Regions from separate parts of the Homo sapiens genome. Here region 1 is linked to region 2. The links are contacts of gene promoters, found by promoter capture Hi-C in human tissues and cell types (Jung and others, 2019). All regions are on one chromosome and are shown on one strand. Each heading gives the region's core, a stretch centred on a gene start or on the middle of the fragment in contact. The rest is flanking DNA. Distances are from core to core; before and after follow the strand shown. Region 1 overlaps DPYS (dihydropyrimidinase). Region 2 holds the start of DCSTAMP (dendrocyte expressed seven transmembrane protein).

What was found. The method cuts DNA at HindIII sites, captures the fragments that hold promoters and counts their contacts. A contact is called where the count stands out against the background at its distance.
Region 1: a contact is called between a fragment that was not itself captured here and the fragment with the promoter of DCSTAMP in region 2, in 1 of the 25 tissues and cell types used here (hippocampus).

What each region holds. Positions count from the first base shown.
Region 1 is chr8:104,378,584-104,383,937 of GRCh38, forward strand. It overlaps DPYS (dihydropyrimidinase), which reads right to left. Exons shown (of 10, transcript NM_001385.3): 9 at 2,601-2,731; 10 at 848-1,260. The coding sequence ends at 2,615. Among named protein-coding and RNA genes, the nearest start is that of DCSTAMP, 41 kb to the left of the region's middle. The HindIII fragment of the contact is 6,955 bases long and covers 250-5,354 here.
Region 2 is chr8:104,337,123-104,342,298 of GRCh38, forward strand. DCSTAMP (dendrocyte expressed seven transmembrane protein) reads left to right here and starts at 2,704. Exons shown (of 4, transcript NM_030788.4): 1 at 2,704-2,740. The HindIII fragment of the contact is 10,500 bases long and covers 1-5,176 here.

The sequences.
Region 1 (5,354 bases), core at 2,477-4,976, 42 kb after region 2:
CAAGTAGAACAGCTATTATAAGGCAACGAGATAAGGCACGGTGATGGGTGTATGCTGGGCCTCCTACGGAGGAGCATGTCAGATCTGGGTAAGGCTCTTAGTGGGGTGCTATTACAGCTAAATACCAAAGGATGAGTGGGAATTGACTTCTGGGTAAGAAAGCAATTTAAATATTTCTTTCGACAGGATTCAGTAGTCTTATTGTAGACTTTCCATTGTCAACCAAAGCAGAGAAGAGAAATAAATATTTTGAAGTATCTCTTAACCTGAGAAAAAAGAGCTGTAGTTTGATTGAACCAGAAGGATTTTCTTCAGATGCAGCTCACCGTCCTTTCTCTTTGTGCTCAAAACAAATCACAATTGGGTAAACTGAATTTCTACTACCCTTTGTTAAATGTGCAAATATACTCCTAAGTGAGTATGCTGGGGGCAGATGCACCTGCAAGGAGAGCATAATCGCCCCAATTTTATTCCATCTTTTAAAAATCCCTCTTGACCTAGTTACCTAGGAGAAGAAATCTAAGCTTAGTTTCTCTGCACACACAGAAGGATCATACCATAGACTAGGAAGTGTGGGGGAAGGAAGGTATTAAGGCAGCCTCTTTCAGCCATGCTGATTCCATTTAATTCCCTCAAATCTCGAATTCATCATTGTGATTGGATAATTTGCCTTGGACTTATTTTAAACTTGAGCATCTAATTTGATTAGGTGGGTTTTCCAAGACCAGATTTCCAAAAGTTGCTGAAGAGACGTGGCCAGGACTCATGCTCTCAAATGAAAACCAACCTCCTAGAATCCCAATCCCACTAGTTAGAAGGAGATACAAATAAATCAGATAATAAGGTATAAAATGAAGATCTCAATGTTTATTAATTACAATAAAAAGTAAAATCACAGAGCTATTTTAAAACTAATGTAACCATTTTTTTAAAAAAAGAAACTATTTAAACAAGAAAATGATTTTTAAAAATTCTAAGTAAGAAATCTAGTACAAGCAAAGATGACATTTTAAAGTATCATCAATGAATTTCCACACAGCCTTTCCATCACAATAATATAAATTTATACCTTCAATCTTATGCAGCAACAAAAACACAGTGAGAAAGACAGCAATTGCTTCTGAAAGAAAATCAAAGAAGCCTATAGTGGTGAATTTTTTCTAAAGGATCCTAGGGAGTTGAATAAGGCCTGCTTCTCCATGGGTTGACAATGTTTGGCTGTGAAGGGAATGGCAGCCTCCTTTCCTCTGATTTTTTTACCTTTGAAGAGAATGAAAGGAACTCACTGTAACATTCTCCCTCACAAAGAGATGCAGAATTCAAACCTAACCCCCAAGAAATGCTATAATCAAAGTAAACACTAATCCTGCTCCTATAAATGTCATTAATAGCATGTTATAGCATTGAATCGCATTCCTTTCTCTTGCTAATCTTTCCCTGAATTTTTAACAAAATCATCCTAGATTAGAAGAATAATTCTGGTCGTCTGAAAATGACAAAAATGTTGAGACTTTGGGCTAGATAGTCCTGTTAAAGACACAACATTCAATAATGAAAGAACATGGCATGTAGCACAGAGGGCTTTGCCATTCAAGCCCTCATTATCCAAATCCCTGCAGGAACAGGATTTATGCAGGGAATAAGAGGTTGTCAAAATGTGAAAAGGTGCAGTGCCTGAATATGTAGAAAACCAGACCGTTGTCAAACTGTGCCTCTCATTAACACAAATGTCTAACCAGGTCCATTAGGTCAACCTCTGGGGTTAAGTCTTGTGCAGATGGCCACGTGTTGAACTGTCTGAAAAGATATCACACGTTAAAAAAAAATTAAGAGCCTAGCAAAATTGCAAAACTGGCAAAACATGTAGATTTCATGAAGTCAGTGGAAGTGATATTAGGGAGATGCTAAAATTACAGCAAAGCCGCTGTTAAATGAGGATCTGAGAGAGCAGGACCAGAAGACAACTGAAGAAAGAAAATTGACAAGGATGATGATACGAGGCACTTCAGAAAAGAAAGATCTGCATGTCAAAAGACAGAGAAAACTGATGAAGTGCTCAAATACTTTTGCAAAAATGACTGTATCTGTAATATTATTCCCAAAACTAACTGTGAAATAATCAGATACTATCAAAGAATTTTTCTGAAGGATTATATCCCCTAAAGCAACATTTTATTCATTTTTCATTTATTCTAAATTTTAGAACACCGTTGTATTTACAATATGAAGATTCATTTCTCCAGATAAGGTCCTAATTCATTTGTAAATTTTGACCATGAAATTATACTCCCTGTCTTAAGTAGTTCCCTCTGTATGTTATCAGCCTCCTTAGTGCAACTTGCTCATAGTTGATTATCCAAGGCTGTATTGAATGTTTCCTAACATCTTAAAGAATGACTCTCTAGCAAGCCCAAGGCCTTCTACAATCTGGAAGGCTTATCTAAATGTTCTGCTTTGATCAATCTTCCCTTGGCTCAATTGTCCTTGAGTCTTGGATCACTGTGAAGCCTCTGACCTTGATCTCTTCAACCCTTATGAGGAGAGATGCTAATTTCATATGCTGTCATGCAGGAAGACTTTTCTTGCCTACAGTCCCTTACCGATGGCACACACTTCAGGGGTGGGCCTGTTTCCTGGTCCCTGCTGTGGCATCTTCTTTTGTCACTCTGGATTTCAGTGTGGCGACTTCTCCCTTATAGGGTGCACGCTCCACAGGGGTAGGTGTGCAAGTCTGAAAGAGAACATTTCATTTCTCTCTTGTGGTTTATTTTCTTGAGTTCAAAGTTAAGTGTAGCTCCCTTTATGAATTGCGAGAGCTTTAAAAAAAGAATCTTATAAATTTATCACGTGCCTCCCCATCCCCTTGGCCTTTCACGGAAATTCCTGGCAACCTTGAGAATCTGGATTGTCCCACTTTTTGTGGGTATTAATCTGCCTCAGACAGAGGCCCAGGGACACTCACTGGGGCCTCTGCCATATCCTCACGCCCTTCTGAGTCCCACAACTGTCTCCTGCTGTCCTTTCCAACATCCGACCTTTTCTTCTAGTTTCAGTCCTACTCACCTGAGTTTGCAGTGCTTCTTTGTACCTCTCCTAACACTCTCAGAGCAGTTGCTTCAGATTCTAGCAATTGGGTACGCTTTCCACTTTCCTGTCTCTGTGCATTATGGATCTTCCACAGAATCTCACCTCGTTGGTGACCGACTATGCAGCAGAACCCTCTGCTGGATTCAGCGAGAGCTGTCAGTGCTTGAGCAGAGTTTTGAAATCACACACACACACACACACACACACACACACATACACACAGACAAATAACAAATTATTGTGGGTCTCATTTTGACCACCCAAACTAATACATTGTAGTGATCAACAGTGTGACCTTTGAAGTGAGACAGATCTAAGTTAGAATTCTCCATTTGCCATTTACTACGCATAGGAAACTGACAAGTTAATTAATGCCTCCAGGCCTACTTCCTCATCCATGAAATGGGGGAAATAAACCTATCTCTCAGATAGTGGAGAATTTCCAGAGCCAAAGCATTTTCTTCATTCATTCAGCAGATATTTACTGAGCTCACACAGCCCCAGAGAGTACACCAAACACCGAGGATCCAACACAGAACAAGGCCCACAGCTCCTGCAGCCACAGAACTTGAAGCACTGCATCGGGTGTGCACTGAGTGCTCAGGAAATGGGGGGACTCCTGCCCTTCCCTCACCAGGCCAAGCCTCTGCTCACTTTCTGTATCTGTCTAAATGCTTTGCTGGACTTCCATTTTGGCTCACTGTCTACTCAGTCTTTGAGCCCTGTTCTCATCTTGAGGAACACAGACACCAGGAAATGAAGGGCCAGCCTCCCATTTCTACCACCTTGGACCACCACATCTGAAACCTTAAACTCACTAATACCCCACTCTCTGGCCACATCCTCCCTTTCAGGTCCTTGGTCCCTGTTTTTTTTTTTTTTTTTTCTTCTCCTGACTTGACTTTCCAAGCCAGACTGCCTGAATATCACTTAAACCTAGGGTGACTGTACAATTTATCATCCAAAGTAGGACACTTCTTAGCATGAAAAGGGCACTAAACATAATTAACGTAAGTATAATCCAGGCCCGTCTGAGCAAACCAAGATTTATGTCCTTCTTTCAGCTCGTTCCTGCCTATCACCTAGAGGGCTTGACTTCTCTCTGCTCCTCTTGGCATTCATACTCAGCAAAGCCGATGGTATATTTCAGTTCAATCTTCAGGCTCTTTTGCAGTGAGTGCCTCTGGAGCATGTGACCTAACTGAGCAGACTTTTGTGCCGCCTACTGTGTGCTGTGCAGCCCTCCTCAGATCCCATTCCGTCTCCCTCTTCCTACACCACTTCCTTGAACCTACACTACTTGCACTTTTCAGCTGTTCATTTTTTGTCTGTCCTGGACTCCGTCTTGGGAACTGACTGCCCATGCCAGTGGCTCAGGTGGGGCCATCACACACAGGGCCTGTCCTCCTCACTCAGAACAGGGCTTGCTCTACAGCCTGCTCTATCACCTAGAGGATGCTTCCCCAGAACCCAGCTTGCAGGCTCTGGGAGCAGGCACCACCCAGGCCAGGCACATCAGAATCCTTCCTGGTAGCTTCCGGTCAGGGCCATGCTTTTGCATGGGCTGGGCTGCCGCTTTCATTTTTGTGTAATTATCTGACTTCTCTTTTATCACTCAGCTCAGCTAATCATCAGTCTAGGAAGCTTTGGCCCTCTGTCCCCTATCCACTATCTTGCTTACCCCAGGTTTCTGGAATAATCTGTTCACTCGTCAGTCTCCCCCAGCAGACAGAGGGCCGGTGTGCTGCTCTCTTTCTTCATAACAAGCACTCAATAGATATGGGTAGAAGGGATTTTTGGGGAGGGAGCTATGAAGGGGGCTTCCCATCTAAGCCTGCTTTCTTCTTTTTGTGGTTTGGCCTGGCGTGGGCTGACTCCGTTTCTGTCAGGCTCTTTTGTTGTGCTGCATCATTTATCTGTTCTCCAGGCTGTACTTTTTTTTTTTTTTCGAGACAGAGTTTCACTCCATCACCCAAGCTGGAGCACAGTGGCACAATGTTGGCTCACTGCAAACTCCACCTCCTATGTGCACACGATTCTCATATCTCAGCCGCCCAAGTAGCTGGAATTACAGGCACACACCACCATGGCCAGCTAATTTTTGTATTTTTAGTAGAGACGGGATTTCGCCATCTTGGCCAGGCTGGTCTTGAACTCCTGACCTCAAGTCATCCACCTGCCTCAGTTTCCCAAAGTGCTGGGATTACAGGCGTGAGCCACTGAGCCTGGCCTGGGCTGTACTTTTTCTGTGGCTGGCTGTCTACAAA
Region 2 (5,176 bases), core at 1,454-3,953:
AGTGAGCCTAGTGTTATCTGTGCTTCTGTGACTCATCAAACCTAAAACCACCTCTGCAGGACAGAGATTCCTTGATGGCAAGAGAAAGAACAGAAGATGCTCCTGACCTTAGGGTCATACAGTAATTTCAGCAGTGACTACTCCTTGCTGGGCCCCTGAGGCAGAATCCCAGAGATGTCCTGGAAGTTCAGGCCCTGACTTCATTTGGTCAATGGCGTTGGCGTTAAAATCAGGATGATTCCTGTTTCTCAGGCCCTCTTAACCAACCATTGCTGTTCTGAGGCTATTCTTCTGAGAAGTGCAGGTGGATACTCAAAGAGTCCAGCTCACTAACTACAGACTTTCAAAGTAATTAAACAACATTTGAGCTGATCAGGTTAAAATTCCCAGCTGAGCATAGCTTTTCCATTCTCTGAGTTCTCTAGGAGTGCAGGAAAGAAATCTTGCAGCACCAGCTGAATCTCATCTGCCTATATCACAGCCCCTCCACCTTAAGTTGCACCAATTTGTAGGGGTCTCTGAGTTTTAAACCCAATTGGCCTCTCCCTTTCTTTCTTTCTTTTTCTCTTTCTCCCTTTCTCTCTCTCTCTTTCTCTCTCTCTCTTTCTTTCTCTTTCTTTCTTTCTCTTTCTTTCCTTCTTTCTTTCTTTCTTTCTTTTTCTTTCTTTCTTTCTTCTTTCTTTCTTTCTTCTTTCTTTCTTTCTTCTTTCTTTTTCTTTCTTTCTTTCGTGTATCAAGTTTACTACCTACCTCCTGGCCAAACCGGGCCACATGGTTAAGCCCAGATTCAAATTGGGTGGGAACTACAAAGTTACAAGGCAAAGGTCATGCATACAGAGAGGTCATTAATTGGGATCTACCACTGCAGGGTGGTAAAAGAGAATGAAAACTGATATGGTGGGGAATACCTTAGCATCTACTAAGGGAGTAATCAGGAAGATATGAGATATCCTGTGAAGGCTTCCCGAAGGAAGGAGAGGAAGGGAAGACCATTTCAGTTGGAAGAAGGATACATTATGGGAATAAGTCATTTTACTGGAGATATGAACACTTATGTAACCAATTCCCAATTGATAGACATGTGGGTTGTTCTACATATTCTCTATTACAATCAATGCTGATCTGTGTATCTAGCTATCCAGCTGGCATAGAGAGGCATATGGTGGATTTGTACACACACGTACACATACACATACACACTGCACACACATACCATGCAAATATAAGATAAATTCTTGGAATGACTAATTCTAGTAGCTTATAAATTTGTATAGGTATTGTCAAATCAGCCTTTTTCTTTCACTCCCAAGTTGGGAATTGCTGGGGACTCTCAAAACCATGTCACTGACTCCATTTTTGGTTGTGGGAGCTGGGAGCCCCTCCATTTCCTCTTCCCAGTTCTTTCTTCTGCAGCTGCCCCCAGGTTTGTTCTCCATGATCCAGCAACTTCTGTCTCCATCCCCCGTTCTCAGAAGGCTCCATCTCCTCCTTCCCCAAGAAAGTTGCAACTGCCCTCAGCTTTCCTCCCTCCCTCCTCAGGGAGTACCAACATCTCTCTCTTATCTTTATTCTTCTTTGTGAGGCTGATATGCTAAATTTCATCTAGTTTTCCCCAAACTCAAACCACTACCTCTCTACTGCTGCCTTCTCCCTCTCCATTTCCATCCCTAGCACTACTACAAAGGAACCCCATCCAGTCCAGCCGGTTGGCTTGCTCCTCCCCTCCTCCCACTCCAGTTCACGCTCCAGCCCACTGAAGAGTGGTGCCCACCCCTAGGCCCCTGCCTAAATGGCTCTTCCAGAAACACCAGTGACTTCCCACTCACCAAAGTCTGGGGCCGTTTCCTCAAGATCCTGCCCACTCCCTGACCCTTCCCTCCCTTGGGGCCACCATGGCTGCTTCTGGATGACTCAATCAGACACCCACATTGCAGTCCCATCCTTCCTGTTCAAATGAAAACATCTCATTTCAACAGCTCTCTTCATCTTCAGGACTAAGTCAGCCCCTTACACAAAGGACTCATGAGGGACATGCAGTCTGTGTGCCCAGCCTGAGCCCAAGGGTCTATTCTGATCCTTTTTTTTTTTTTAAGATAAAGGTTTTTGCAGGTATAATAGGGGTCTCCAACAAAAAGTAAAGAATAATTTTGTAGAAAGATTTTGAGACTTTCCTAACTCTCCGAAACTACACAAGCTGGTCCTTTTGACTTGGAAGCTAAATTTCTAAGATGGAAAGTCACATGTATGAGTGGGAGGCATGAAACCAATTATTCGACCTGTCTGGGGTCATGAGTGCAGAGGCGGCTCCTACGAACCATCTGCCTCTTCAAGTGTGGATGAGAGGTGGGTATGGCGGATGCTTGTCATTTCCCAATGGCTCGAGTGGATGTGGGGAGTATGGGAGTGAGGGCAAAAGAGAAAAGAGGGAGAGAGGCCGTCCAAGCTTTCACAACTCACTCTCTTGTGTTTGAAAATATCTGATTTCATTATTTTCTATAATTAATTTCTAGAACATCTATTCTGAGGAAAATGCTAGAAAGAAATATGCTATTCATTTGTATCAGCATTACTCTTTGTTGATATTAAATGGCTCAGTCACTTTATGGGGGAAATAAAGAGGTTGATTCATGGTGATGTGACCCTCTCGACACTTCTGGTTCCCTTTTTCCTGCTATATATCAAGACCTACAGCCCTTGGGAAGTGCATTTCTGCATTCGAAGAAGAATCTGAGAGAAACCTGTAAGTAAACTTTCAGAATAATCTTATTTCTAAAATTGCTTTTAAAAAAGTACTAGTAAATTGGAATAAACAATTGTGACCAGAGCATACTTTAAGGCCCCCTATACCCCGACAGTCTCCCTATGTATGGAAGTATCAGAAAGTCTTTTCATGTTGGTATCTGAATATCCTCTGCTCAGGGAAAACTGCAGCATGAATATCTTCTTATGGGTGTAGCCTGGGTATACGCGAGCCACCCTTCACTTTATGAATCCCCTCAGCTAATCCTCCTGGTGGTTATGGGGAGCCCTAGGCTGGCTCAGTCCTGCCTGGCCAACGATGCAGCTCCCGGCACCTGGCACACGCAGCAATGGGCTGAATTGTTCCGTAAATGCTATTCTGTTTACCTAGTAGCGTTCATTAATCTTTCCTTTCTTGTGTGAAGGCTGCTTTCACAGAGGAAGGCATTTGCTGGCTTTCCCAAGGCAAGAACAATGAAAACAAAGTCATGAGGAGTTCTCTCTACCTCAAATGAAGGCCGCAGCTCCTGCTCAAGCTATTTTGGCAGTCTGAGAGAACAGTACATTCTGAACCACATTGTAAGTTTGCAAGAGCTTATACAAAAAAGAAAGGGAGAAAAAAGGAAAAGGAAAAGAAACCCTCCATTCTTCTTTTGTTCCACTCCCAGGTGCTGGGCTTTGATGTTCTGTCTCAGAAGTGACTGCAGAACGCCAGCTCCAAGAACCAGCTCCGCTGCTCACTGCACCTTTCATTTCAGAGAGCATGGGGCTAGTGGGGACCTTAGAACTCAGCTAGCCCATAGGAGCTGAGGTCCAGGAGGTGACATGACCTATCCAAGGCCACGCAACCTGGCTTGGGTAGAGGCAGGTTGGACCACAGGTCTCCGTTTGGCGCTCTTTTCCTGTTCTGCTCTGTCCTTTGATCAAATTCCTTTTAAAATGAGATTCACATCAAGCCAGTGAGGGAGGCTGATGGGTTCAGACTGGGTTCCCGCAGGGGACCGGCAGGGCTGGTTGAGGAGTACAGAAAGAACAGAGTGCTTGTCCGTTTGGGTTTATTGTCCCCTGGGGTGTCTGCAGACTATATCTGGGCTTGTTGAGCATAAGCCATTGGCTTCTGCACAGGCAGAGTCAGAATGAACTGGTGTCACTTAATGGGAATTGCAGGACATCAGATGAGGCAGGAGCTTTGGAAATGGGGAGAGAGGGGAGCAATAAGATGCTCCCAAGGTCATTGTCTCCTGGCCTTTCCTCCAGAGAAGGTCACATTTCTTCCTCCCACACTTTCAATAGCAGTAAGCCTGTGGGTTTCTGCTTACCAGCTCTGGAGACACATGGGTGATGTGCAGCTTCAATACCCCTCCAGTCTAGAAAGCTCCTAGGGTGGGCCATTCATGTGGAGATTCTCATTATTATTTCATGGCTCCATTTTTTGTAGCTTCTGACTGGACCTTGTATCTGAAGCAAGGACACATTCATCTGCACCTTGAAAGTTGATCTGTGCTCAAAAGACAGTGCTCAGGAATGCCGGTCTCCTTCACTCATCAAAAAGGTGGCCAAACAGAGCTCTGTGGGTGGGGGCTGTGAGCCCTGTGCCCTCCATGCTGGGGCTCTCAATGCTCCCACTGACACTGAGATCCCATGCAGGGAAAACGATTGAGGTGTATGTACCTTGCAGAGGTGTCTGCTAGCTAGCATGGGCAGGGTTGATGTGGAAGTCTGGCTGTTTCTGTTTCCCATGGCAACAGCTTGGCCCTGCATGAAAGCAGGTAAATGTGGGCTCAAGCCAGATGCACAGACTGCATGGCTCTGCAGGGCTCTCAGCTCAAATCAGGGCTCTTCATCCCTAACCCTGTTCTGCTATTTTCCTGTTCCCTTCCACTCAGCCACAAAAAGGGCTTTAACCCCATGAAAGAGAGATGGGGCCCTTGGTGGTACTCTGCTGTGGACTGCTAAGGCTTCCCTGCCTGAGGTGTGGTAGAAACTGCAGTTCTGAGATAAAAGCAAGAGAGTGGCCATTACTCTAGGGATAGTGCTGTTGGTAAAAGCCAGAAACAGGTATTGTATCCTGGGGACACAAGCATGTTGAGTCAGGAATAGACATTATTGACAATGGAGGCAAAATAAAGAGAAATTACAGGTTAAAGGGATCAGGTAAACTTTTAGATGCTGCCAGAAAAAAACGATGGAGAGGCAGAGGGAGGGACTCTGTAAGCACAAGAGAGGGGAATAAAACAGTTAGAAATCTTTGGGCAAAAATAAACATTTCCGAGGTATAGAGGAAAACCTTTATTTGTGAGACTGGAACTTGGTTTAAGCATGGCTTTTAAATGTCTCCAGGGATAAAAGGGGAAAAGGTAATTCACAGGAATGGAGAAGAGGAGGGCTAAGGTGAGAAGCCAGCCAGAGAGGAGAGAAGAGAGCCATGTGAACGTCA